Linked DNA regions of Homo sapiens: all the other regions are linked to region 1. Evidence: promoter capture Hi-C in 16 types of primary human blood cells and fetal thymus (Javierre and others, 2016). All regions are on one chromosome and are shown on one strand. Each heading gives the region's core, a stretch centred on a gene start or on the middle of the fragment in contact. The rest is flanking DNA. Distances are from core to core; before and after follow the strand shown.

The links. The method cuts DNA at HindIII sites, captures the fragments that hold promoters and counts their contacts. A CHiCAGO score of 5 or more calls a contact.
Region 2: a contact is called between a fragment that was not itself captured here and the fragment with the promoter of ALDH5A1 in region 1, in 1 of 17 cell types (erythroblasts). The highest score is 5.6, in erythroblasts.
Region 3: a fragment that was not itself captured here is called in contact with the fragment with the promoter of ALDH5A1 in region 1 in 1 of 17 cell types (fetal thymus); the score reaches 5.5 in fetal thymus.

What each region holds. Positions count from the first base shown.
Region 1 is chr6:24,492,083-24,496,520 of GRCh38, reverse strand. It overlaps ALDH5A1 (aldehyde dehydrogenase 5 family member A1), which reads right to left and starts at 1,552. Exons shown (of 10, transcript NM_001080.3): 1 at 1,171-1,552. The coding sequence starts at 1,524. It also overlaps a transcript of GPLD1 not described here. RefSeq lists a silencer at 1,157-1,546. The HindIII fragment of the contact is 3,166 bases long and covers 1-2,543 here.
Region 2 is chr6:20,467,113-20,471,550 of GRCh38, reverse strand. The region is part of intron 1 of E2F3 (E2F transcription factor 3); the gene reads right to left. Among named protein-coding and RNA genes, the nearest start is that of E2F3-IT1, 32 kb to the right of the region's middle. RefSeq lists an enhancer at 3,988-4,438. The HindIII fragment of the contact is 579 bases long and covers 2,410-2,988 here.
Region 3 is chr6:20,561,876-20,566,313 of GRCh38, reverse strand. All of the region lies in intron 4 of CDKAL1 (CDKAL1 threonylcarbamoyladenosine tRNA methylthiotransferase), which reads right to left. Among named protein-coding and RNA genes, the nearest start is that of CDKAL1, 30 kb to the right of the region's middle. The HindIII fragment of the contact is 494 bases long and covers 2,401-2,894 here.

The DNA of each region.
Region 1 (4,438 bases), core at 303-2,802:
AGAGCGGTAAAATGAGAAATGTCTGTTGTTCAGGCCACCCAGTCTGTGGTACTTTGCTATGGCAGCCCTAGCAGAGGAATATGCCTGGTCACACTGTTGATGCTGCATCTTGCCCCTTCCCTCTGGCCCGGATCCTCTCCTGCTTCTACCTTTTTTCCATATTGCACTCAGCATCTCTCACATACTTATTTGCTTAGATATTATGTTTGTTGTTTAGAGTTCTGATCTCTCTTCTGCTCCCCTTCCACCCCATGTGAGCTCCATAAGGGCAGAATCCTTCTTTCGTTTAACTGAGGTATCCCAAGCACCTCCAACAGTGCAGGGCATACAGCAGGTGCTCAGTAAACAGCTGATGGATGAATGAGTGCTAAGACTCTCTTGTACTCGTAGGGATCGCTGGATGCATTCCTTCAGAGGGAGAGCTTTGAAGGACACGGTAAAAAATTTCACTGCGTTGACTCCAGGTTTAATAATATAATATTAGAAGGAAGAAACTACTTTCTTAGTTTTCTTCTTACTCTATTCTTCCCATTTAATGGCCCTCCACCCCTTACTCCCAATTCTCCAGTGTTCTCTATGCAATGGCCAATAGCAGCATTTATCCATTTAGGGTGAAAACCTGGAGAACGCTCCTGGATTTCTCTCTTCCCCTGCACAAAACCCAAATCTTTCTACAGTTCTCTCCGTTTCCGATCCCATGATTCTGGCCAGGGGCCCTCACTACCAGCCTTCTCAAGGGCCGCTGAAGCAGCCTCCTGCGTGGGCTCCCTGCAGCTGCGGAGATATTTCAGCTACTCTGAAGGGCCACACGTGCTCTCACTTCCCTGACACCCCTCCCCTTTCTCCCCGCCCCTCCACGGTTAGGCTTGTTGACCATAACAAGCAGCTCGCTTGTATTAGGCGCTCACGTTCTGCCTCCCCTACTGGGCAGTGCATAACTTGATGAGGCTTGAGGGCAGGGGTCGTGTCCCTAGTGCCCGGCTCAAAGTGGAAGCTCCAAACTTATTTGTCGGTCGTCTCCCTTGTTGCTCTGACTTTCCACTTTGTATACCCTGGGGAACTGAGCACAGGAGGGAGGCGACGCGGCTGGTGTCACTTTGGGGTAAAGCCCCCTCTGCTCCCCGCCGTGTCCCCGGCCAGCTCTGGCCCCCTGCATCCGGGCTCTCTCACCTTGGCGGAGACCTCCCTCCAGCGGCAGAAAGCCTCGTAGGCAGCGCGCACGGCGGCGCGGGCCTCTCGCACCCCGCAGTCGGCTACCATGCCCAGAGCGGCGCCGCTGGCCGGGTCTTGCACGGGGAAGGTGGCGGCGGCCGGGAGCCAGCGGCCGCCCACGAAGCTGTCGGTGCGCAGCAGCGCCGCAGAGAGGCCCGCCAGGCGCCCAGCGTAGCAGCGGAGCTGGGCCGGGCCGGGCGCAGGCCCGGAGGCAGGGACCAGGCCGCCGGCGCGGGGGCGGAGGCGGCAGCCTGGAAACGTCGACCCGAGGCGCCGGGCCCCACAGCTCCGCAGCCAAATGCAGGTCGCCATGGCCCGGGCAACGACGGCGACAGGAAACAGGCAAGCGGGCGCGCGCGCACGGGAACGCAGGGGTCGCGGGGAAGCAAGAGGAGCGAGGAGGCGCCGGGGACGCGCGGGGAAAGCGTGGGAGCTGGCGGAAGGTTGCAGAGCCACAGAGCAGCGCCCTCTCTCCGCGTCTTTCTCGCTGCACCGCCGCGCCGCCCTCTGCACCTTGCCCTAAGCGCCGCGCGGCTTCTCTCCTGGCGCGACCTTCTCCCGGGGGAGGGTTGGGTTCGGGGATGGAGAAGGCTCGCCAGTAGATGCACCTGCGGACTGCTGTCACCTTTTCACTTTTCGGGTGCTCATTTGTCACTAACTGCTCCTGAGCCCCCAATCGCTGCTAGAGACCCACTCTCTCCCCTTAGCATCCCCCAAATTCGGCATCCCCGGAATTTGTGCGCGGTCCATAGATGCGCTGGTGCCTGCCCTAAATGCCAAGGCCGTGATCACGCTTCTTCAGTTGTAGCTCCTGAGCACGTAGTATTGATTGGGAGCGATCGTTCTCTGAGGGGTCGAAGTGTGACCCCGCGTTCTGCTGCCTGGCTGCTTTTTTGGGTGTGTGTCTAGGCATTCTCCTAGGGTTGCTCCCGATAAATAACAGCGCTTTGGAAATAAACAGACTAGGATCCAAACTCAAGTCTGTTGCCGACAAGCTGTGTGACCGACAGGTTAACCTTAGTCCAGTCACTTATAAAATAGAACCATATCTACCCCATTTTGTTGTGAGATAACGTAAAATGCTCATTACAGTTGCCACATTAAATTCAATATAGCGTTCAAAGTCATACTAGCTACCCTAGTCAAGCCACTAGTAAGATTAAAGTTGGGTCACCAACTAGTAAATGGAAGCATTTGTCAAAATTGAATCAACCAAGGTATAAGGATTGAGCATACTATCCAACCAAGGTATTTGAGCACCTTTAAACAGCATTCTTCATCCGTTAAAAAATTAGACTTGGGCTTAAGACTCTGAAAGCAGCAGGGAAGCTTAAAACCTAATGAGGATAAAAATAAAAATAGCAGGCGTATGCTGGGAATTTGTGGGTGCAAATGAAGCCCAGCCCTATGCATTGATTTTAGGTTACATATCTCCCTTTCTCAACTCCTACAGCGTTGAGAGTATCTTGCTAGCTTTCACCTTTTTCTAGGACGTTGAATTTTTTTCTAGGACATTTGCAAAATGCCGAGGCAGTAACTTTAAATTTTGACTTTGTCTTTTGCTGAGTCAGATCCATTGAGTTTTGAGCCAGTCACATATGGCAGAAGTGATAACAGTAGAGTTTAATCAATTTCACACTATTTTGCTCTGTATTTTATTGCAGGAACTGGGGAGAACCAGGGAGTCCTAATAGGGATGTGGGCCAGTAGGTATCACAGGTGGGGCTGGGGAGCTGGCGTGTTTACATCTCCTGCCTGCGGAGGGAGTTTTTGTTTTTGTTTTGTTTTGTTTTTGGTGGTGGTTTTTGTTTTTTGTTTGTTTTGTTCTTGTGAGACCGACAGACTCATTCTGTCACCCAGGGTGGAGTGCAGTGGTGCGATTTCAGCTCCCTGCAACTTCCGCCTCCCGGGTTCAAGCGATTCTCCTGCCTCAGCCTCCCGAGTAGATGGGGCTACAGGTGTGTGCCACCAAGCCCAGCTAATTTTTGTATTTTTAGTAGAGACAGGTTTTCACCGTGTTGGCCAGGCTGGTCTTGAATGCCTGACCTCAAGTTATCCGCCCTCCTTGGCCTCCCAAAGTGCTGGGATTACAGGGCTCATTTCTACTGGCCTGGGGAAATCATTCAATTGAGGCCTCAATCAACTGAGGCCCAGAAAAGCCAAGTTAATTGTGGCTGCCTCTCTTGTTCAAAAATTACCCTAGCCCACTTACCTTTTTAAGGTTCTATTTCAAACGGTACCCACTCCCTTTCCCAGATGACTTATCCATTACGCACAGTAGGTACGATGCCAAGGGCCCATAAAACTTTTAGGAGCACTCACAAATGTTTAATTTATTCTAAAATCTGAAGAAAAGAAGTTTTAGGTGGCATATTAATATGTTAATCTTACACCAATGCAGATGTAAAATGTGATTTCTATTTATTGTTTACTTATTTTTGTGACAGGAAGTACTTCACAAAGGCAAAAGCGCCTGGAGCTTAGAAAGTTCACAATGTGGCCCTCCCCTTTTCCCTCAGTTTTGTGCCCCTCTTCAAGCCCCCATTCAGAGTGTAAACAATTTCCTCCTGGCTCCTGTCTTACTTCCAGCCTGTCCTGATGCCCCCTAGCGCCTGGCTGGGTGTCTGTCCTTACCAGGGCCTACAAGGACAAGACCATCAGGTGAGAGGGACCTCTTCCCTCCTTTCTCCTTTGGCTGCCCTTGTCCTGGGAACCTCCACTCCCCAGTTCCCACCCTTATTCATCCTCTCCCCCATTTTCTTTTTCTTTTTTTTCTTTCACTTTTTTTTTTTTTTTTTTTTTTGAGTCAGGGTCTTACTCTGTCGCCCAGGCTGGAGTGCAATGGCACGATCTCAGCTCATTGCAACGTCTGCCTCCTGGGTTCAAGTGATTCTCCTGCCTCAGCCTCCAGAGTAGCTGGGAGTACAGGTGCGCGCCACCATGCCTGGCTAATTTTTGTATTGTTTAGTAGAGATGGGGTTTCACCATGTTGGCCAGGCTGGTCTTGAACTCCTGACCTCAGGTGATCTGCCCACCTCGGCCTCCCAAAGTGCTGGGATTACAGGCATGAGACACTGTGCCCAGCCTCTTCTCCCCCATTTTCTAGACTGGCCCACATAAAGCTTGAGACCCTCTGGCTTTCAAACCTGTATTCTCCCTACTCACTCCTTAATGTAACTGTATGTTTACTTTTCACCTTGGGTCTCTATTTCCAGAAGAGTTCTAA
Region 2 (4,438 bases), core at 1,450-3,949, 4.0 Mb after region 1:
AGAGTGCAATGGTGCAGTCTCCACTCACTGCAACCTCTGCCTCCTGGGTTCAAGTGATTCTCCTGCCTCAGCTCCCAAGTAGCTGGGATTACAGGCGTGCACCACCACACCCGGCTAATTTTGTATTTTTAATAGACACAAGGTTTCACCATGTTGGCCAGGCTAGTCTCGAACTCCTGACCTCAGGTGATGCACCCGCTTCGGCCTCCCAAAGTGCTGGCATTACAGGTGTGAGCCACCGTGCCCGGCCTATATGTGCAACATAAATGCCCAACCTCAGAAGAAAAATTCAGTAAGTTATTATACATTTATATCTTGAAATGTTATGTAATTAATAATGATGTACAGCGACATATGTAACTTAAAAAAAGCAGGTGTGAATAGTAAAACTATTTTTGTAAGAAAATTATATGCATAGAAAGCAAGTATCTAAGGATACATACCACACACCAAATAGTTGAAAAGCATTAATCTTTGGATAGTAGGCTTATGGTGATTTTACTTTCTTCTTTTTAGCTTTTTTATATTTGAAAATCATTTTAAAGTGAGCGTGGGTTACTTGCATAACAAGAAAAGCAATATCATTTCCATTTGGGGTTAAACAGAAATCTGGTGGCTTATTTTCTAGACTGTTGAATGTCTTATGTACCATTCAATATGTACGGGTTCAAAACAGAAATGGGATATGCCACCAGAAAGGGCATCCAGCTTCGTGGTGGGGAGGGAAGGGATGTTCTTATCCACCATGCCACTGAGCCACAGGAAAAATTAAATCAAGCACAAGGCATGGCCTGCTGTATGTTAACAAACTGTGAATGCTAAAATAAACTCCCTTCTCCCTAGTTAATAGGAGATCAGGAAAGGGATAGAACTTGATAGATGATACCTTTTGTCTCAAAACCAAAGACGAGACAGGTATTTTGAACAAAGGAAGAAGGAAAATGAAATAAAATAGAAATAAAAAGAATGAAGACCAAGTTAAGTACATCAGTGAAATAACCCAAAGGAGGGAATTTCCAGCTTCATAGCAGACCACAGCTGAACCTCACTTGGACTCTGGCCATTAGGTTAGTGGGTCAGGGCATGAGGATTTTAAGAAAAGTTAGTTTTCAGCTGTAACTATGTATTAACTCAATCTGGCTCATCATTTTTGAATCCATTCAAATATTTATTGAGTGCCTGCTATGTACCAAGCCCTGCATGGGCATATGATTATAAAGGCAACATGGTGGTCCCTGCTATCAACAAGTATACAGGCAAGCAAACAATGGGAAACAATGGGAAATTTATTATGAATGAATACTGCAGTGAGCCCAGGGTGGGTCCAGGAGGGCATGAAGAGGGGTGCATGGAGAAGTGGGTAGAGGTCTGGAGAGATTGTTAAGAGGTGACAGCTCTTGAGCTGTGTTATGCAGATAAGGGAGTGAAGTCAGAGGAGTTGAATGGGCTGTCCAAATAAGAACAGAAGCAGAGATTTTGAAAAGTCCTGGTTCGGAGGTGCTTGTGAGTAGTGAGGGGCTTTGAGTACAGAATGATGAGGAAGGGGGACAGCTTATGGTCCCTTTCATGCCAAGCTAAATGCACTCCTAGTGTCAACCTGTCATTGACGAGGTTACCTAAGATGAAGGGCTCCAAAGTCTTCTCCAGCTTTTTACAGTGAGAGGTAAGTGCAGAATCTAATGAGAGTAGCATCCTCTGTGAGCCGCTGGGTGAGAAGCCTAATCACAAACCAGACTATCTCAGAGAAGAATAACTGGTGAACTGAACAGGTGTGCAGAAAACTCCAACCGTATCCCCATCCTTTCTCACTTGGATTACTAGAATGGACTCCAAAGTTGGTCATTTTTCTTCTTTTGATTTCTAAACTAGGATATTTTAATTTCACTATAACCTGTATTTGTGGACTAGTTTGGGGATCTAACCACATATATATGAATGTTTCTAAAGGAAAAGCAATCTCACTGACTTAGAACTTTTGGAATAAAAGCCATTTAACCTATGAACTGGTGACTGCGGTCCCTCCTATAGAAACTTATTTTGTTTTTAAGAATAATTTAAGACAATTAAAAAACAAATAGATGCACATGGTTTTTCAAAACCCACTAGCTCAGAGAGCCTATAATGGCTACCTTGCTGGGGGAACCACCTTTACTATTTCTCCTGGTGGTCACCTCTGTATCTCTAAGTGATATGCTCACACAGCTATTTCTGGTTTAGCCATTTTAGTTCTAATGTACTGACATCCTTCAATGATACGATACCCATCTCACTTCTTCCATTTCCCCCCAATAGTTACATAATTAGTTTTGGTTAAATAAAAAACCAGTGCTATACATCATGACTGTATAAACAGTATTCACTGCAGTATCAAATAATATACTGAGACTATATATCCTTTCTTGTAAAGCTTGTTTGTTTTCTTTGGAGTTTCCAATTGTCTTTCTAGCTCGTTGGCACCATTTGCCCTCACCAAATCCTCAAATTTTTTCCAACTCTCCATCATATCAGATATTCTACCAAATCTCCACTTTTCCTCCTGCCTGAAGCTCTCTGGCCTCCTGATATCCAGACCTGAGACTAGCTAGGGGTTCTCCAGGTCTGCTGCATGGCTGTCATTCTGCAGTTTTCCTTCACTGCATACACTGTGCTGATGCCCGAGGTGAACATCTGTCACTTGATTTGAGTGCCCAGCACCTGAACTTTCTCTCCTATGTTTAGAAAACCCCTCACTTTATCAGTCTTGGTGTAAGGTAGGCCCACTTACTATAGAAGATGAAGTATCTTTTTGTGTGCTGATGATTTGAATGAAGGCCGGCTGCCCTTAGGTGGCTTCAGGATGGACAATGGTCACTGGAAAAACCAAGGCAGGATCAGAGGGTCAGAACTTTCAGACCCATCTCTAAACCTCCAAGGAGAGGAGAGGGGCTGAAGGTTAAGTTGATCCCCAATGGCCAGTGATTTAATCAATCATGCCAACATAATGAAGCTTCCCAAAAAACCCAAGAGGACAGGGTACGGAGAGCTTCCAGGTAGCTGAACACAAGGAGGTTCCTGGAGGGTGACGCATGCAAGGAGGTCATGGAAGCTGCGTGCTCCTTCTCACATGCCTTGCCCTATGCACCTCTTCATCTGCATCCTCTGTGATATCGTTTATAATAAACCAGTAAACCTCAATGTTTCCTGAGTTCTGTGAGCTGCTCTAGCAAATTAACTGAATCTGAGGAATGGGCCGCGGGAACCCCGATTTACAGCAGGTTGGCCAGAGGCACAGGTAAAACAACCTGGGGCTTGCAACTGGCATCAGAAGTTGGGGGTGGTCTTGTGAGACTGAACCCTCAATCTGTGTGATGTGACACTTCTCTGGGTAGATGGTGTCAGAATTGAATTGGAGGACGCCCAGCTAGTGTCCGCTGCAGAATGAATTGCTTGCTTGATGCCTGGGGAAACCCCCCACACATCTGGTGTCACAACTGTAATATGCGAAAATAGTGGGAGAAACCGAGTTTGTTCATTCCTCAGCATTTTCAGAATTGGTGTCAGAATCGGGACTGCTAGAACATCCCTAGCTCATGTTTGGGAAGAAAACAGATAAAGGGGTTGGGGGGTGAGAAACCTTTGATTCCTGGGTGCCCATGTGGTCACCCATGGTATGGAGTGGCAGCTCCATACCCATGGTATGGAGTGGCATCAGTCACTAAAGGTAAAAGTTACCAATGGAATTTAGAGGTGGATCAATCTAACTCCCTGGAAGGTGGTTTGCTGAATGCATGAAGAAATGCGAACTAATAAGAAAAAAACAAAATATGCAACCCTTTGGTTATTGTTATCTGTAATAGCTAGAATGAAAGTAAAAAGAAAGTGCTGGGCCAAACCTCGATGCCAGACCAAGTTCAGATTTCAGTCAATCTATGCTTCAGCCAGTAGACTCACAGAACCTCGCTCCCACAAGGGAAAAATTATGCAGCGACATCAGAAAGCACCCCTAAGGACTTTGGGCACCAAGAAGGCAGTGTCAGGAAAGGGCAAAATCAAGAAGCCATTGAAAGCAGAGGGTATAGTGTGAAGGAATTGTTTCATTTTTTAGATTGGTATCATCAGCTTCCTGAGGAGGCTTTACTAAAATGCACTGTGAGAGTAATTTAGGAGCAGTGTCTTTGGTTTTGAATGTTGGAAGAAGGGGGACTGCCTGACTCCACCTATAAACGTCAAGCTGAAACAGCTGATACACTTTGTATTCATGCCATGTGGGGCCTGGGTTTATGACCACCAGATTATTCAAGCACTGAATATGCCTTGCTACCCAAGTCATGGTAAATGATGCGATTAGGGGCGCCCCTTTAATGTGGATGCCCCATTTAACCTTGTTGCCACAAAATCGAGAGATAGTTCAAGAAGCCTTATGAGATGTACTTGCTCAGTTTCCCCTCATGAGTCTTAC
Region 3 (4,438 bases), core at 1,398-3,897, 3.9 Mb after region 1:
CACACAGAAGGGTCATGAGGCAAGATCATCAGCATAAATTAGCACATTATTACAAGGCATCTAAAGGAACCAGGCAAAATCTGCATGACAGATCTTTCTTTCATAACGAATATATAATGCTATTTGATTGCATTTCTTTTAATCACAAGTATTATTTGGAGGGAAAATACTCGTAGTCTAATATCACATTTTACTACCTACCCAAAATTGGAATTATGGACAGCCAGGGTATGTATGGGGTTGGAGAGGGAAGCCTGTTAAAACCATTTTTGGGACACTTAACTATCTTTGTCCATTTGTCCAGAAACAAAGGGGTTTAAAAAAAAAATCACTGAGTGCATTTTTGCTTTTTCTAATTTTCCCACAAAAATCTGAAAGCATTAAATCATTTAGGAAAAAAGCCTTTGTTATTTACCAAACCCACAGAATTACACATCTACTAAAAGAGGTGAAATAGCAGTTCAGTTTGTTAATGAAGCCCTGTTTTTTCATCTCTACAGTAAGAATATCCTAAGACTACGGCCTCTAGGGTATTAAAGAGTCACAGTATCTTCTTTTTATTTTTTATGCTACTCATAGCTCACAGAACCACTGTCAAATACTGGAAGAAAATATCTATATGATAGTCTTTAGCTACTGGAACTGTTGCTGAATAATCAAATCCTCCTGTAATTATGCATTTTTAAACAATTCAGACAAATCGCATATGTAGCATATTACTAACATCAACAAACCCTGCTAGAAGAGTGAACATTTAAATATAAGCACATATACTCCCATGAACATAAAAACAAACCTCTAACTGCCAACTGTGCCTTCACTTCCCCCAAGCTATATACATTTAGTAACTGAGACAGTCATTTCAGAGTTAGGAGGATGGGTTTTTAACGGAAAAAAATGTAAACTTTCTTTCCAAGGCATGGTACCCTAAAAAGTGATTTTCAGAGAGAAATAAAAACTGAAACATACAAATTATATTGCCTCAAAATAGTCCCTACTTTTAAGTAAAGGAAACAGTAGAAGCACATCTGAAATTATTATATCTTGGACTTCTAAACTTACCCCCACAACAAAAGTAAAACATTTTATAATAGTAATGGAACTGTCTTGTGCTTTTTCACCCCTGTAAAAATCACTGACAAATGCTGTTCATTTAAAAATATATATATATATAGATAGCTTTGATGGGATAAAAAAATATCCTACTTGTATTCTCTTTCTAGGTCATAAACTACATTGGATGTAATAGGCTGTATAAATGAACAATCAGGAGGTTTCCGTCTAACTGTATGGGAAGTGTATTCACCACATCCTGCTATATAAATAACCCTCACTTCAAGTCAAATTCATATTATCTAATTTTTGCATTTCTCACCCAGAGAAGCTCTTCGCAGGACCTGGACCTAGATTCTCCTCTCATCACACAACTGTGAGTAGGAAATTCAAGCAATGAAAGGTTTTGCTACATTTTCAAAGGTACTTTTAAGATAAAATAACTTTCTAAAATGAATAAACCTGGGCAGTGTGACCTAAAAGCCACATAAATAATTTATTTGTGGCTGTCATGTTTTAATCACTGGACTGTTTTCAGAGGCTTAAAAAATTTAATGGTTTTTGTTATACAAAAGCAACTAGGTTTTCCATGAAACATTAGCTGTCACATTAATACAAGGTTTTATCATTAATTACAATGGATCACACAGGAGTTTATATCTACAAAATGATTGTTAAATATCTGAATTTCCAAACCATTTCAAAATAAAAATGAAACCTGGTCCTAGTAAACTTTACATGAATTAAAGATCCATTTACAAAACAGAAAATTAAATGTAAAAAAATAACCTCAATTTAAAACATTTGTAGATAAAACATTCAACACACTTTTTCATCAAAAAATGCAAATTAAAATATTAAACATAGGTAAACAGTGCCATCTTTTGGTATATTTAGGAACTGAGCTAAATTGTACAAAAACATCTTTAACAGATGAAAGGTGAGTAGAGCAAAGAATTCAAAAACCATCAGTTTATCATTTTATAACATTTAAGCTTTATAAATATATTAGCTTTTTTGGAGATGGGGTCTTGCTATGTTGCACAGGACAGACTCAAATTCCTGGCCTCAGGTAATTCACCTGTCTCAGCCTCCTGAGTAGCTAGCATTACAGGCACAAGTACCAAGCAGGCTATTTTTAAACTTATAAATATTTCCAAAAACATATTACCTCACATTTGTTTTCACTTCAATTTCATGAGATTAATAGAGCATCATTACATTTTAAAGACACTGAGGCTCAGAACATTTTAGTAATTGATCCCAAAATCCCTCAGTTAAAAATGATTGAGCCATCGCTGGCTTAAAATTGCTCGTTTTTACATTCCAACATTAATTCATTAAGCTTAGATAATGAGCCAAGTTATATAATTATTCTGTATTATAAGCAATGAACAAATTTTTATATTAGTTAAGATTCTGTAAAAATCGTTTGATTGCTTTTAGTATTTTTTGTATAATTTGGAAAGGAAAAGATACTTATGTTTATTAAATGAAGAATACACATTGACTACATTCACACAGCTGCTTACACTTCACAAATGCAAAAACTTTTAATCCAATATAGTATTCTTCATATCTCTATGTTAATGAGAAAAAAAAAAAGCCCTCGTTGGCTAGGTGTGGTGGCTCATGCCTGTAATCCCAGTGACTAGGGAATTTGAGATGGGAGGATCAGTTGAGGTCAGGAGTTCAAGACCAGACTGGGCAACACAGTGAGACACCATCTCTATAAAACTAAAAAAAAATTAACAAAAATATTTTTAAAAGCCCTTGTTTATGGCTTGCACATGATTTTACACCACAATATAAAAAGCCGTTACAAATGGAAATGATAAGCTTCAAATACTCTCCCTAAAGCTTCTCTGGCTTAATTTTGATCTTAGATGTGTCCATATACCATTTTCAATGTCTTCCACTTTTGTATTGTTCAGTGATTTTCTGAATAGTTTTATTAAGCCATAACATTTATTCCAGAACACTCTCACAATTCCTTCATTTTTGTAAGCTAGCTAATAATGAACTTCCTCATGGAGAGAAAAAAAATATTCTCAATGATCTATCTTTATCTTTGATTCACTTGTTACTAAGAATTTTACTCAAACTGCAATCATTAGTTCTTTACACAGCAGACTTGAAGATCATGGTTAAAACACAATCATTCCATCTTATATCATATAGCAATTCAATTAAAAAGAACATCAGAAAAAAGACAAGTCAATAAGATCACCAAAAAGGCTACTGAAAACACTGCTGAAGGAGTGAAAGCAGAGAAAGAGTCAATGGGATGAGCCATAAGCACTACATCTTCTGTCAAATGGAACTAGGTGATCAAAAACAATTAGACACTAACTCAGAAATGTAGTTACTTCACCCATTAGGCCTTACCTCTTGTCTACCGTATATTCAAGAAAAAGCACCGTATAGGACATGAGAATTGATAAACTTAGCTGTCTCTAAGTATGATTTGCCGGGAAAGATTGAAATAACATGCTAACAATGAATTTTTTTTTTTTTTTAAGATGGAGTCTCACTCTATTGCCCAGGCTGGAGTGTAGTGGCATGATCTTGGCTCACTGCAGCCTCCACCTTCCAGGTCAAAGCAATTCTTCTGCCTCAGCCTCCCGAGTAGCTGGGATTACAGGCGCCCACCACCATAGCCGATTAATTTTTTTTGTATTTTCAGTAGGGACGAGGTTTCACCATGTTGGTCAGGCTCTTCTGGAACTCCTAACCTCAAGTGATCCGCCCACCTCAGCCTGGGATTACAGGCGTGAGCCACCAGGCCTGACCAACAGTGAATTTTTTGATGGATTTAATTTCATCCCCAGGCTCTCCTTTTTTCATCTTTAGTAGGGCTGGATGCTGTCTACCCTCAAGAGTAAATAGCATTCCAGATCTTCTCCAGAGACTCTAAATTTCCTTTCCTTATTTCTGAGTGGATGGAAATCCCATTTTGAAGGCCCTTATTATTTCTCTCTTCATTATTCCATGGGTAGAAAAGAAAAAAAACAAAGAGAATGCCACTCTCATTCCCACCCTTACAATATGCCTCTTTACCAACCGTTGCAAATAACTCAAGTGAATACAAGTAATACTCCAAGATAATCTCTCTGCGAGGGCACAGGAACACACACAAATAAATGGAAATATATATAACCATACTGTATTAAGTTTGAAGGAACATCAAAATTTCTAATACTGAATCCAATCCCATTAAATTGAAAGCAATTACTGCTTCCAATTGAATAAGAATGGATTAAATTAGATTTCTGATTCAATATAATTTGTAGTGTCCATGACAGGAAAAGTGATAGTATAAGGATCTTATCCAAGACATGTCAAGACTATGCAGACTGGACTTGACAGCCACCCAAATAGAATT